Regions from separate parts of the Homo sapiens genome. Here all the other regions are linked to region 2. The links are contacts of gene promoters, found by promoter capture Hi-C in blood cells and fetal thymus (Javierre and others, 2016). All regions are on one chromosome and are shown on one strand. Each heading gives the region's core, a stretch centred on a gene start or on the middle of the fragment in contact. The rest is flanking DNA. Distances are from core to core; before and after follow the strand shown.

Region 1 (3,168 bases), core at 283-2,782, 260 kb before region 2:
TCCTGCTTGTGTCACTGTGGGCAGTGACTTCACCTCTCTGTGCCTCAGTGTAAAAGCATGGTTGGGAGTGCCAGAAATGGAAACACCCCTCCAGGTGCCAGCAGAGCTCCTGGCGCAGGGTCAGTAGGTGTTGACCATTATTACTAAGAGGTCCCTAGGCAGAGACTAGATACCTCCGAAAAGGTGGGATCGTTCAGACAAGGTAGACACTGGGCAAGGCCTCTGCATCCTCTGATGTCATCTCTTCCCCATCCCCAGATGACTTCCGGATCTTCTGTGGGGATCTGGGCAATGAGGTGAACGATGACATCTTGGCACGCGCCTTCAGCCGCTTCCCATCCTTCCTTAAGGCCAAGGTGATCCGTGACAAGCGCACAGGCAAGACCAAGGGCTACGGCTTCGTCAGCTTCAAGGACCCCAGCGACTACGTGCGCGCCATGCGTGAGATGAATGGTGGGTGCGGCCTCCCCTGGGAACTGCAGGCGCGGCAGGCGCTGGCCTAAGCCTGACCCGAGCCTGCCTTGAACCCTCTGTCTCCACAGGGAAGTATGTGGGCTCGCGCCCCATCAAGCTTCGCAAGAGCATGTGGAAGGACCGGAATCTGGACGTGGTCCGCAAGAAGCAGAAGGAAAAGAAGAAGCTGGGCCTGAGATAGGGTCTGTGGCCAGGCACCCGCTCCCACCTGGCCGGGCGCTGGCTCCTCCCTCAGTTCTCTTTGGAAAACCCCCAGCTGTCCACCCATCCCCTGCCCCAAAACCAGTTTCAATAAATTTACGTTCATTTCCACCCCTGGCTGGGCATGGAAGCACGCTGTGGGGAGCAGGGCTTGGCTTCCCCACAGCTGGAAATGGCGGGGAGCCTTGAGAGTTTACCCAGGCAAACACCCAGGCGGGGGCTTCTGAGCCCTTCCTGCGCACCCATTCCCTCTTCAAACCTCTTCCACACATGCTGAGTGCTGCTTATTCCAGAGGAGAAAGGGGGGCCAATGGCAAGGGTGAAGCCAAGCTGAGGCCCATCCCCGTGTCCTGGCTACTTCCTGTGTTCTCAGCACCAAGGTAGGAGATCTAGGCCCTTCCCTTCTGGAGCTCACAGGCTTCTAGGCCCTCTTCCATCCAGCAGACTCTCACCAAGGGTCTGAACAGTGCTTGAGGACACAATGGTGACTAAAAGTCCTGGGCCCTGCACCGTTAGAGCTCAAGGTCCAGTGCAGAAAATAGGCCCGGTGCCCTGACGATAAGAGCCCAGAGTGGTCAGGGCAGGATGGGGGCGCTGACCTGTGGGTGAGGGGGCCCTTCCTGAAGGAACCGTCCACCCCCAAGTCTCCTCTGGGGCTTTCCAGCTTCTCCAGTCTGCCATGCCCAGCCAGCTCACCATGCTCTAAGTCTCGGTGGGCACCTCTATCTCTGTCTCTGTGGGTACCCCTCCATTTCTTGTCTCTAAGCTTCTATATCCCTGTTGGTCTCTGTTCTCTCCCTTGGAGCTGGGAAATGAAAAAGGAGGAGAGACCCACAGATAGAGAGAACAGAGACTTGGGGTCTGTTCCCCTCTCTTCCCAGCTCCAAGCTGGCCTCTGCCTGTCTGAAGAGGTGTCTGTGCAGGGCCTTGAATGCCAGGCTGAGGGCTTAAGCTTTACGCAGAAGGCAGCAGCAAGCCCCAAAAAGCTGAGAAAATTCAAGCAGCAGCAAGGTCCTGGGCAGCACAGATGTGCGCTGTAGAAAGGGCCCTGTGACCGGCTGGGTGCGGTGGCGCACGCCTGTAATCCCAGCACTTTGGGAGGCAGGCAGATCACTTGAGGTCACGAGTTCGAGACCAGCCTGGCCAACATAGTGAAACCCTGTGCCTACTGAAAAATACAAAAATTAGTTGGGCGTGGTGGCGGGCACATGTAGTCCCAGCTACTTGGGAGGGCTGAGGCAGGAGAATCGCTTGAACCTGGTAAAAGGAGGTTGCAGTGAGCTGAGATCGCGCCACTGCACTCCAGCCTTAGTGACAGAGTGAGATTCTGTCTCAAAAAAAAAAAAAAAAAAACGCCCTGCGACCACCACTGTGGCTGGAAGTCTAGAAGGCTGGGGCAGGGACTGGGCCAGAGGAGGGAGATGGCAGGTTTGAGTATGGGGAGGAGTGGAGGGTCTCCCAGGGACACAGCCATCGGAACCCTCCATTAGGAGGGAGCAGGTTGGGCAGGACTTTGTGGGGCATAAGTCGGGGGATGGACAATACCAAGGCCTCTCAGGGACCGAGGTCCCCCAGGAGAGGTGTCGAATTTCTCCTGTTCCTGTCTTCCCCGCCTTACTGCCCCCTCTCTGACGTCACATTTTCCAGTCTGGTCAGAGGGTGAGAGCCTCCCTGGCAGGAAGTGCCCTTTAGCCCCCTGCCACCTGGGCCAGACCACCCAGCCCCAGGATCCTCAAAGCCCCTTCCCCCCATCACTAGTCTTTTCTACCCCTGACCCCCCTTGTACTGACAGCAAGCATAGGGTCACGGGAGGAGATGGGAAGAGAGGATGGCTCCAGAAAGGACGCTTCCAAATGCATGTGATTCTCACTTCCAAGTGGGAGCAGAACAGCAGGTACACGTGGACATGCAGAGTGGGGTAACAGGCACTGCAGACTCCAAAAGGTGGGAGCGTGGGGGAAGCTGAACAGTTACCAGTTGGGTACGTTGCTCACCATTCGGGTGCACTAAAGGCCCAGGCCAGTATACTGGATATACTGACATATATCCAGTAAGGAATCTGCACTTGTACCCCCTAAATGTTTATCTTTTTTTTTAATGCACACAAGTCTTCCTGAGAACAAGAAGAGACACACACACATAGAATGTGGCAAGCAGAGGTAGAGATGGCGCTGTGAGCAGGAGGCTCAGAGGCAGAGATGAGAACCATCAGAGACTGTGCAGTGGGAAGGGGGACGGGGAGAAAACCAAGAGACAGATGGAGACGGACAAGGAGATGAGATAGGAACACTCAAAGACAGATGGGGAGGGACAGAGATGTCAGAAGAGACCAGGTGACAAAGCCTCACTGGAGTCAGGCCCGTGGCAACAGAGACCCAGCTTTAGATATGCCAACCTGAAGAAAGAGGGCAGAGAGACATGGAGAGACAGACAAGAGGCCAGCTTCAAGGATGGGAAGCCAGGACTCCCTTCAGGCCTCCGCGCTGGACGGAT
Region 2 (3,538 bases), core at 931-3,430:
AAAAAGGGAAGAATGAGGGCCTGACTCCCAGGTGTCCCAAAGTTCTGAGAGCTGCGATGTCTGAGTCCCTTAGGGAAGGGGGATGGGGAGGCCGGGAGCTGAGAGAACTTACCAGTCACAGCCTCATTCACAGATGGGGTCAGGGGCTGCTCTGGGGGAGGGAGAAATTGTCCCTGTAGAGACAAAAGCAAAAAGGAACCCAGGTGACTTTATCTGGCAGATTCCTCCGGGTCTGTCTCGGATCTATAAGACATTTCGGTCAGGACCACCCCTCTCATCAGCCCCGAGGGCCCGGCAAGCCGCTGAGTCCCTACGGGACAGCACGGGGCCTCCGGAGAGCTGTGGCTCCCTGGCCTCACCTGCACCCCGCCAGCGTCGGGCTGCTGCTGCTGGCGGCGCCTCTGCTCTTCCAGAAGCTTCTTCACGGTTTGCGTTGGGCAGTGGCTGCGCTCACCCCTGCTCACTGTGCGGGAGAGGAGAGGGGGAAGTCATCAAGGGTCCTTAAGTCACCTAAATGCCGCGGGGGTGGCGCGCGGGGAGTGGGTTTGGGCACCCTCCTCGCCCTCCCGCGCGGAAAAACTGGCACATAGATGCCGCCTGACTCCTCCAAAGCCATTAGAAGATTTGGGGTGGGGCATCCGCCTCCGCCGTTTCCTTCCTTTTGCTCCGCACTTTCCCTCTGACCCAACTTTCCACCACCGTCGCGGAAAGTGAGGAAGGGGGAGGAGGGCACCCCTCTGCAGCAACCACCCCACTTCCGTAAAAAAATTCCACCCCCAGATATCCAAGTTTTGAAGTCAGCGGGTTGGTGGGGGGCCGGCGCCAGGCGTCACTCCCTAGACTCACATCCAGGTTCCCAACATTTTTTTCCCTAGAACCTGACCCGGAAATCAGGAGTCCCCAGCGCCCCTCCTCGAGAAGTCAAAGGCCTCACCCCGGGCCGGGAGCGGTGGCTCACGCCTGTAATCCCAACACTTTGAGAGGCCAAGGGGGGCGGATCACCTGAGGTCAGGTGGCCAACATGGTGAAACCCCGTCTCTACTAAAAATATAAAAATTAGCCGGGCGTGGTGGCAGGCGGCTGTATATCCCAGGTGAGGCAGGGGAAACACTTGAACCCGGGAGGCGGAGGTTGAGGTTGCAGTAAGCGGAGATCGCGCTACTGCACTCCAGCCTGGGCGACAGAGAGAGACTCCATTAAAAAAAAAAAAAAAAAAAAAAAAAGGCCCATCCATACAGTCTCTTTTTCAGGCCCCAGGAATCTGGACCCTCAGTTCCTTCCTCTCTAGGACCTGGGAGCCCCAGTTCCCAAACTCCTTCCCACGACTCAGAAAGACAGAACCCTCACCCTTCCGAGCCTGGGTTCCGGCGGAGGAAGGGTTAAGTGGGGATTGCGCGGGGCGGGGGCGGGAGGAGGTGGCTCGGAAACAGCCCCGACGCGGCGCGCTGACGCCACGGCGCTCACGCAAGGGAATCTTCCATCCTCCCCTTCCCCCCAAGTCCTGTGCCCCAGGTGTCCTGCTCCGAGGCGGGGCGCGCGGCCGATCGTGGCGCTCGTGGAATCCCCGCGCAAGGGGAATTCCTGCTCAGCCCCGCACGGGTGGCCATCCGGAAATCCCAGGGCGGGGCAGAGGCAGGGTCACCGCCAGCGTAGACCCTGAGGCCAGGCTCCGGACCCTTCCCCACCGAGACCCACGCCGATTTTAAGCAACCACGCCCCCCCCCCCCCCCCCCGCACTCAGCCTAGTCCCTGCTTCTAGGGGTAGGAGTCTCGGTTGCCAGCAACCCCTAGCACCTCCAAGGACCCAGAGATCCAGCCTCCCAAGCCTCCCAGCCCTTGCACCCTCGGGGCCCTGCGATCCTGGATCCCCAGGCCCCTGCACCCCCAGGACCCAGAAGTCTGGGATCCCAGCCGCCCCTCTGTCACGATCCACGATCCCCTCCTCCTCCAAACACCTAGGGCCCTCACTCTCGGGATAAAGGACTGACGCTTCAGCTCCGTCCCTCAGGGCCTCGGGAGTCTTTCGATCCTCAGTCCCTCACTCTCTTAGGGGGCCGAACGCGTCCTGCCCGCGCCCATTACCTCGGGGATTCCGTGGCGTGGATTGCGGGCCCCCAGGGCCGCGGCCTCGGCGCTGCGCCAGCCTCGCTGTTTCCCCCGCGGAGCCGCCGCCGGGTCCCCGATCTTGGGTCCGGTACCCGCGAGTTTTTAAACTAGGGGTTATGGCACCGCCCAGTCCTGGGCAGGGCCCGCCCACAGGCCTGGGAGTCCCCGGGTCGCGCTCCGGCGAACGCAGTCCCTGAATGGGCGCGGCGGACTTGGGAGGCGGACTACTCAGTCCCCCCGGGAAGGAGGGAGCTGGGGTCCAGATCTTTGCTCTGAAGGAGCCTAGGGCACCGGGCTCCAAGAGGAGGGAGAAACCGGGGGGCCTGGATTTCTTTTCTTTTCTTTTTCTTTTTTTTCTTTTCTTTTTTTTTTTTTTTTTTTTTTGTTGTTGTTTTTGAGAAGGAGTCTCTGTCGCCCAGGCTGGAGTGCAATGGTGCGATCTCTGCAAACTCCGCCTCCTGAATTAAAGCGATTCTCCTGCCTCAGCCTCCCGAGTAGCTGACACTACAGGTGCTGGACACCATGCCTGGCTAATTTTTGTATTTTTAGGAGAGATGGGGTTTCACCGTGTTGGCCAGGCTGGTCTCGAACTCCTGGCCTCAGGTGACCCGCCTGCCTTGGCCTCCCAAAGTGCTGGGATTACAGGCTTGAGCCATGGTGCCTGGCTGGGGCCTGGATTTCTGGGTCTGTGTCTAAGGGGGTGCTGGAGGCTTTGTCTCCTGGGTCCTGCCCATGGGGGTAGGGGTAGGAGTGGGGATGGAGATGGGGTGGGGGCAGGGAGAATATTACTGGGTCCAGAGGGAGGCAGGACTGGGGGTCTAGACTCCCAGAGGAAGGGTCTGTGGGTAAGGGTATAGGGTGTGGCTCAATTTCTCCCTCTCCCCTACATCACCCTTTTTAGAGGTCTGGTTTCATTTACTCATTCATCATTTAAAATAATTTATTGCAGCAGAGGAGGCATTTTGCTGTGTATTGTGAACTAAGCAGGCAGGAATTCCCAGCCCTGGAGCTGGCATTCCAGTGGGAGGCCACTCTCAGTTTCACTTGGTGACCTTTCACAGCACTGACCATGTTGGCCCTATTTCTCCCCTGCTTGCTTGCTTTTCTATTTTATTTTATTATTACATTTTTATTGTTAGAGAGAGGGTCTCATTCTGTCGCCCAGGCTGGAGTGCAGTGGCAAAGTGGTGAGATCTCGGCTCACTGCAACCTCCACTTGCCTCAGTCTCCCAAGTAGCTGGGATTACAGGAGCCTGACACCATGCCCGGGTAATTTTTGTATTTTTGTAGAGACGGGGTTTCACCATATTGGCTTGAACTCCTGATCTCAGGTGATCCCCCCACCTTGGCCTCCCAAAGTGCTGGGATTACAGGCATGAGCCACTGCGGTGGCCTCTCCCCTGCTTTCAAGATGCCATGCTCTCAGGGGTCC
Region 3 (3,434 bases), core at 521-3,020, 350 kb before region 2:
AGCCAGGGGATCTATCTGAAACCCGTCTAACCAGGTCATCCTCCCACTTGCAGCCACTTGCGGCCCCTTGTTACACAGTGGACAGTCCAATTGCTTGGCCTTTGGTTTTACCCAACCAGCAAAACCAGCTTTTCTGAAACTGCTCCCTAGAATAATTTGTCCAGCCAGATTCTTAACATCGTTCAAGCCATGGGGTCAGCATGGGGCTGGGGGGAGAGTTGTGACTGTGAGCTCCTCAGTTCTATGGCCCTCAGATCAGATCCCAGCCTGAGCCTTCTCAGGGTGGAGTGGAGAGACAGCTGCAGCCAAGAAGCAGAGCAGTGGGGCCCCCAGCTTGGACATTGTCCTGGATGCCCCCCTCCACCCTCAGCCTTCCTTGGTCCACTGAAGCCGGCTCCCCGCCTTTCTCTGAGGGGGATGTGTCAGAAGTTTTGAATGTCATGTTTAAGCTCCACTTTGATGTACACCCTCCCCACTCAGGAAGATGCTCCCCATCCTTGGTGTTCCCAGTGGGGTACCCCAGGGAGTAGGATAGCACCATTGCCCCTCCTCCTCCACCAGGCCGTTGAAGTTCCACCTGATTTTTTTTAAGCTTAGGCCTAGGAAAGCTCACTATGACCATCTCGATGTTTCCAGAGGGAGCATTTGCCTTCAGACGGCAGCTGCCATCTAGGCCACTCTTCCTCATTGTTTGGAGTAAAGACAGGGTCCATGGGTCTCTTGGGAGCTGGAAGTGATTGATCACCTTGACTTTGATGTAGAAAGGAAGTAGATGGGGCAGTCTATCTGGGTGGACTTGTGACAAGGTCACTTTCTCCCACACTTCCATGCCCCACATAGCTCTTCACACATATTGAGACAAGTGTAGGATGCAAAATTACCAACTGGAATAATCCCAGCTTACATGGGGTTCAGGGAGAGAGACTGGAGTGGCTGGGCCTGAGTTGGCAGAGGACGGTGAAGCCTGGGCGGTTGGACTGTGGGGAGCCAGGCTTCAGGTGATCGGGGTTATGATGGGAAAACCCCGGGTTATGGGGACCCAGAGGAGCCGCCTGGCCTGCCGTGGAAGCAGTGCGGGCTCCCCTGAGCAGAGGACATGTGAGCTGAGACCTAAAGAATGAGTGATTGGGGCAAGGCAGAGGTAATGGTCTTGAGGTCAGAGAGGGGGCCTGTTTTTCCCAAGGGAACATAACTGGTTGGAATGAGTTCAAGGGGACTTGTAAGACTACAGAAGCTGGCAGGGGTCAGATCACAGGAGGCTTTGGGAACCAAGGAGAGCTCTAGGCAGAGGAAGGACAGGGTCAGATTTGGCTTTAGGAAGCTCTGCATGGCTGTTGTCTGAAATGGGAAAGCTGAGGCCACGAGGCCAGGGCTGGACCAGGGCAGGGCTTTGTGGGGTTAGGAGAGTGACTAGAAGCCAAGCCCAGGTGTTGGTGATCAGTGGCTGTGTGTATTTATTTACCGGCAGGGGGCGCTAACAGGTAAGGGAGGAGCAAAGAGTTCCAGGATAACTGGAGTTTGGGGCTTGTAAGCCCGAGGGCTCACCACGTTTCCAAGGGAGAAGGGACCACACTGATGGGACAGTGGGACTATCAGATTGGGTCAGTGCATGGGTACAGGCATGGGGGGTGATGAAGAGGCCAGTGTAGGTCACCAACACTGGGGGAAGCTGGGGACAGAGGTGGGTCTCACTGCAGAAACAACTGAAGCCATGGGGGACTGGGGGGCTGTGGTCACAAGGAAGGAGAAGCCCAGGCCCTAGCCAGAGAAAGCCACATAAGAAAGAGGAAGAGAGGTGAACAGAGGGGCTGGGAAAGGAGCGGCAGAGATGGGAGGTAGGGGGATGGGGTTAACCTTTCAGGTGAGGGGTGTGAGGAGGGGACCTCCAGGAGTTGTTCAGGAACTGGCCATTGCCGGGACAGAGGAGTAAGCAGGTAGGCTCAGAAAGGAGACACCGCTGGGGGGTGGGGGATGCTTGATGTGGAAATGACTTGGGCCCCCTTGTGTCTGGGAGCCTCCAGGAGGGAGAAGGGTGCTGAGAACAGAGAAAGCCCAGAGGTGGTAGGGGGTGCCTATCGCCACGGCCCAGCTTGCGTTTAGATGCCATGACCCTGGGCAAAGGAATAGGAATCATTTCCCCAAGGCAGGTTTATTGAGGACCTACTATGTGCCAGGCTGTGTACTAGGCACTGGAGGTGCAGCCCTGGATAAACAGCCCCCATGTACAGGACTGTGGGAGATCACAAGCACTAATGAGAGACGCTGAGGACAGTGCCTGGCACCAGATACAGCACAGTCAGCATGAGCTGGTTTTATTACCATCGCCCAGGACACAAGCGTGTCTTTAACGAAGGGCCCTCAGGCAGCCGTCCAGCCTGGACTGGAGTCCTAAGAACAGAAACACCCTCCAGAAGCGGTCAGCTGTACTCCCTGTCAGAGCCCCACCGCCACCACAGGTGGCGGCTTTCCCGAGGCCAGCCCAGAGGACTGCCCAGGCGCTGCTGCTCCAGGAGGTGCGAACCTTGGGAATGGGGGAGGGGAGTGGGCAGGTCCCTCCAAGTTTGGGGTGCCGTGGGCTACAGAAGCAGATACTGGTGGGGCTGGGACTCTTGGTTGCTCAGATATCTTGGTGGCTGTCCAGAGGGTCCCACGAGCCCTGCCCCCACCTGCTGTGGCAGTTGCAGGGATGCTTGAAGGCAGTCGTCCCTCTAATAGTAGAGTTCCTGGTCCCACCAGCCTGGGAGAGAGAGGGAGAAAGGAGACTCAGTGCTGGGGGTGCCACTTAGGCAGGGCCAGGGGCTCAGAGGTCAGTGCTGGTTGCTATGGAGGGTCAAGGGCTTAGAGGCCAAGTGTTGAGGATCAAAGGTGGGTGCAGCTGCTCAAACGTTTCAGTCCCCTGCCCCCAGGCTCCCAGTCTCCACACTCACTCCCTGGGCAACAGCGAACTCCAAGCTTCCGGATCTCATCATAGACGAAGATGAGGATGCCGTAGGGCAGGGGGACCAGCCACCACTGGAACCTGAAGGCACATGGCAAGGTGAAGGCCATCCCAGGCCTGTGCCCTACAGCCCCCTCCCTGTCCTTGCCCCTCACAGCCTCTCACCGAATGGGCATGAAGTTGAAGATGTTGGGCATGCCGGGGCAGTAGCACAGGAAGCAGCCGATGCAGACCTGGAACACGATGGCGATCACCAGGATCTTATTCCTGGGGGTGGGCAGAATGGGACAGGCCATTAGGAATTGGGGACGTGATGGAAATCAGGATACTGTGGGTCAAAGTAGGTCAGATGTCAGCAGCAGCAGGGAGGTGTTCTACACACTGAACACTGGAGTGGCCCGGGCCTCTCAGCACCACCCCTTTAGTGAAATGTGGAGGGGGCCGTGGGGGGAGTTATTGGCCAGTTAGAAAGGTTTTTTTGGCATGTCACCATCTG

What was found. The method cuts DNA at HindIII sites, captures the fragments that hold promoters and counts their contacts. A CHiCAGO score of 5 or more calls a contact.
Region 1: a fragment that was not itself captured here is called in contact with the fragment with the promoter of NFKBID in region 2 in 2 of 17 cell types (activated CD4 T cells and fetal thymus); the score reaches 7.4 in activated CD4 T cells.
Region 3: a fragment that was not itself captured here is called in contact with the fragment with the promoter of NFKBID in region 2 in 2 of 17 cell types (fetal thymus and activated CD4 T cells); the score reaches 6.0 in fetal thymus.

Annotation. Positions count from the first base shown.
Region 1 is chr19:35,636,900-35,640,067 of GRCh38, forward strand. RBM42 (RNA binding motif protein 42) reads left to right here. Exons shown (of 10, transcript NM_024321.5): 9 at 259-453; 10 at 543-786. The coding sequence ends at 655. Among named protein-coding and RNA genes, the nearest start is that of ETV2, 3.3 kb to the right of the region's middle. The HindIII fragment of the contact is 186 bases long and covers 1,440-1,625 here.
Region 2 is chr19:35,898,360-35,901,897 of GRCh38, forward strand. NFKBID (NFKB inhibitor delta) reads right to left here and starts at 2,181. Exons shown (of 12, transcript NM_139239.5): 1 at 2,083-2,181; 2 at 360-463; 3 at 113-173. The coding sequence starts at 2,143. RefSeq lists enhancers at 1-468, 469-1,040, 1,053-1,609, 1,455-1,704, 1,610-2,165 and a silencer at 2,065-2,214. The HindIII fragment of the contact is 4,662 bases long and covers 415-3,538 here.
Region 3 is chr19:35,547,907-35,551,340 of GRCh38, forward strand. ATP4A (ATPase H+/K+ transporting subunit alpha) reads right to left here. Exons shown (of 22, transcript NM_000704.3): 20 at 3,104-3,205; 21 at 2,928-3,019; 22 at 2,125-2,737. The coding sequence ends at 2,709. Among named protein-coding and RNA genes, the nearest start is that of TMEM147-AS1, 3.6 kb to the left of the region's middle. The HindIII fragment of the contact is 2,360 bases long and covers 591-2,950 here.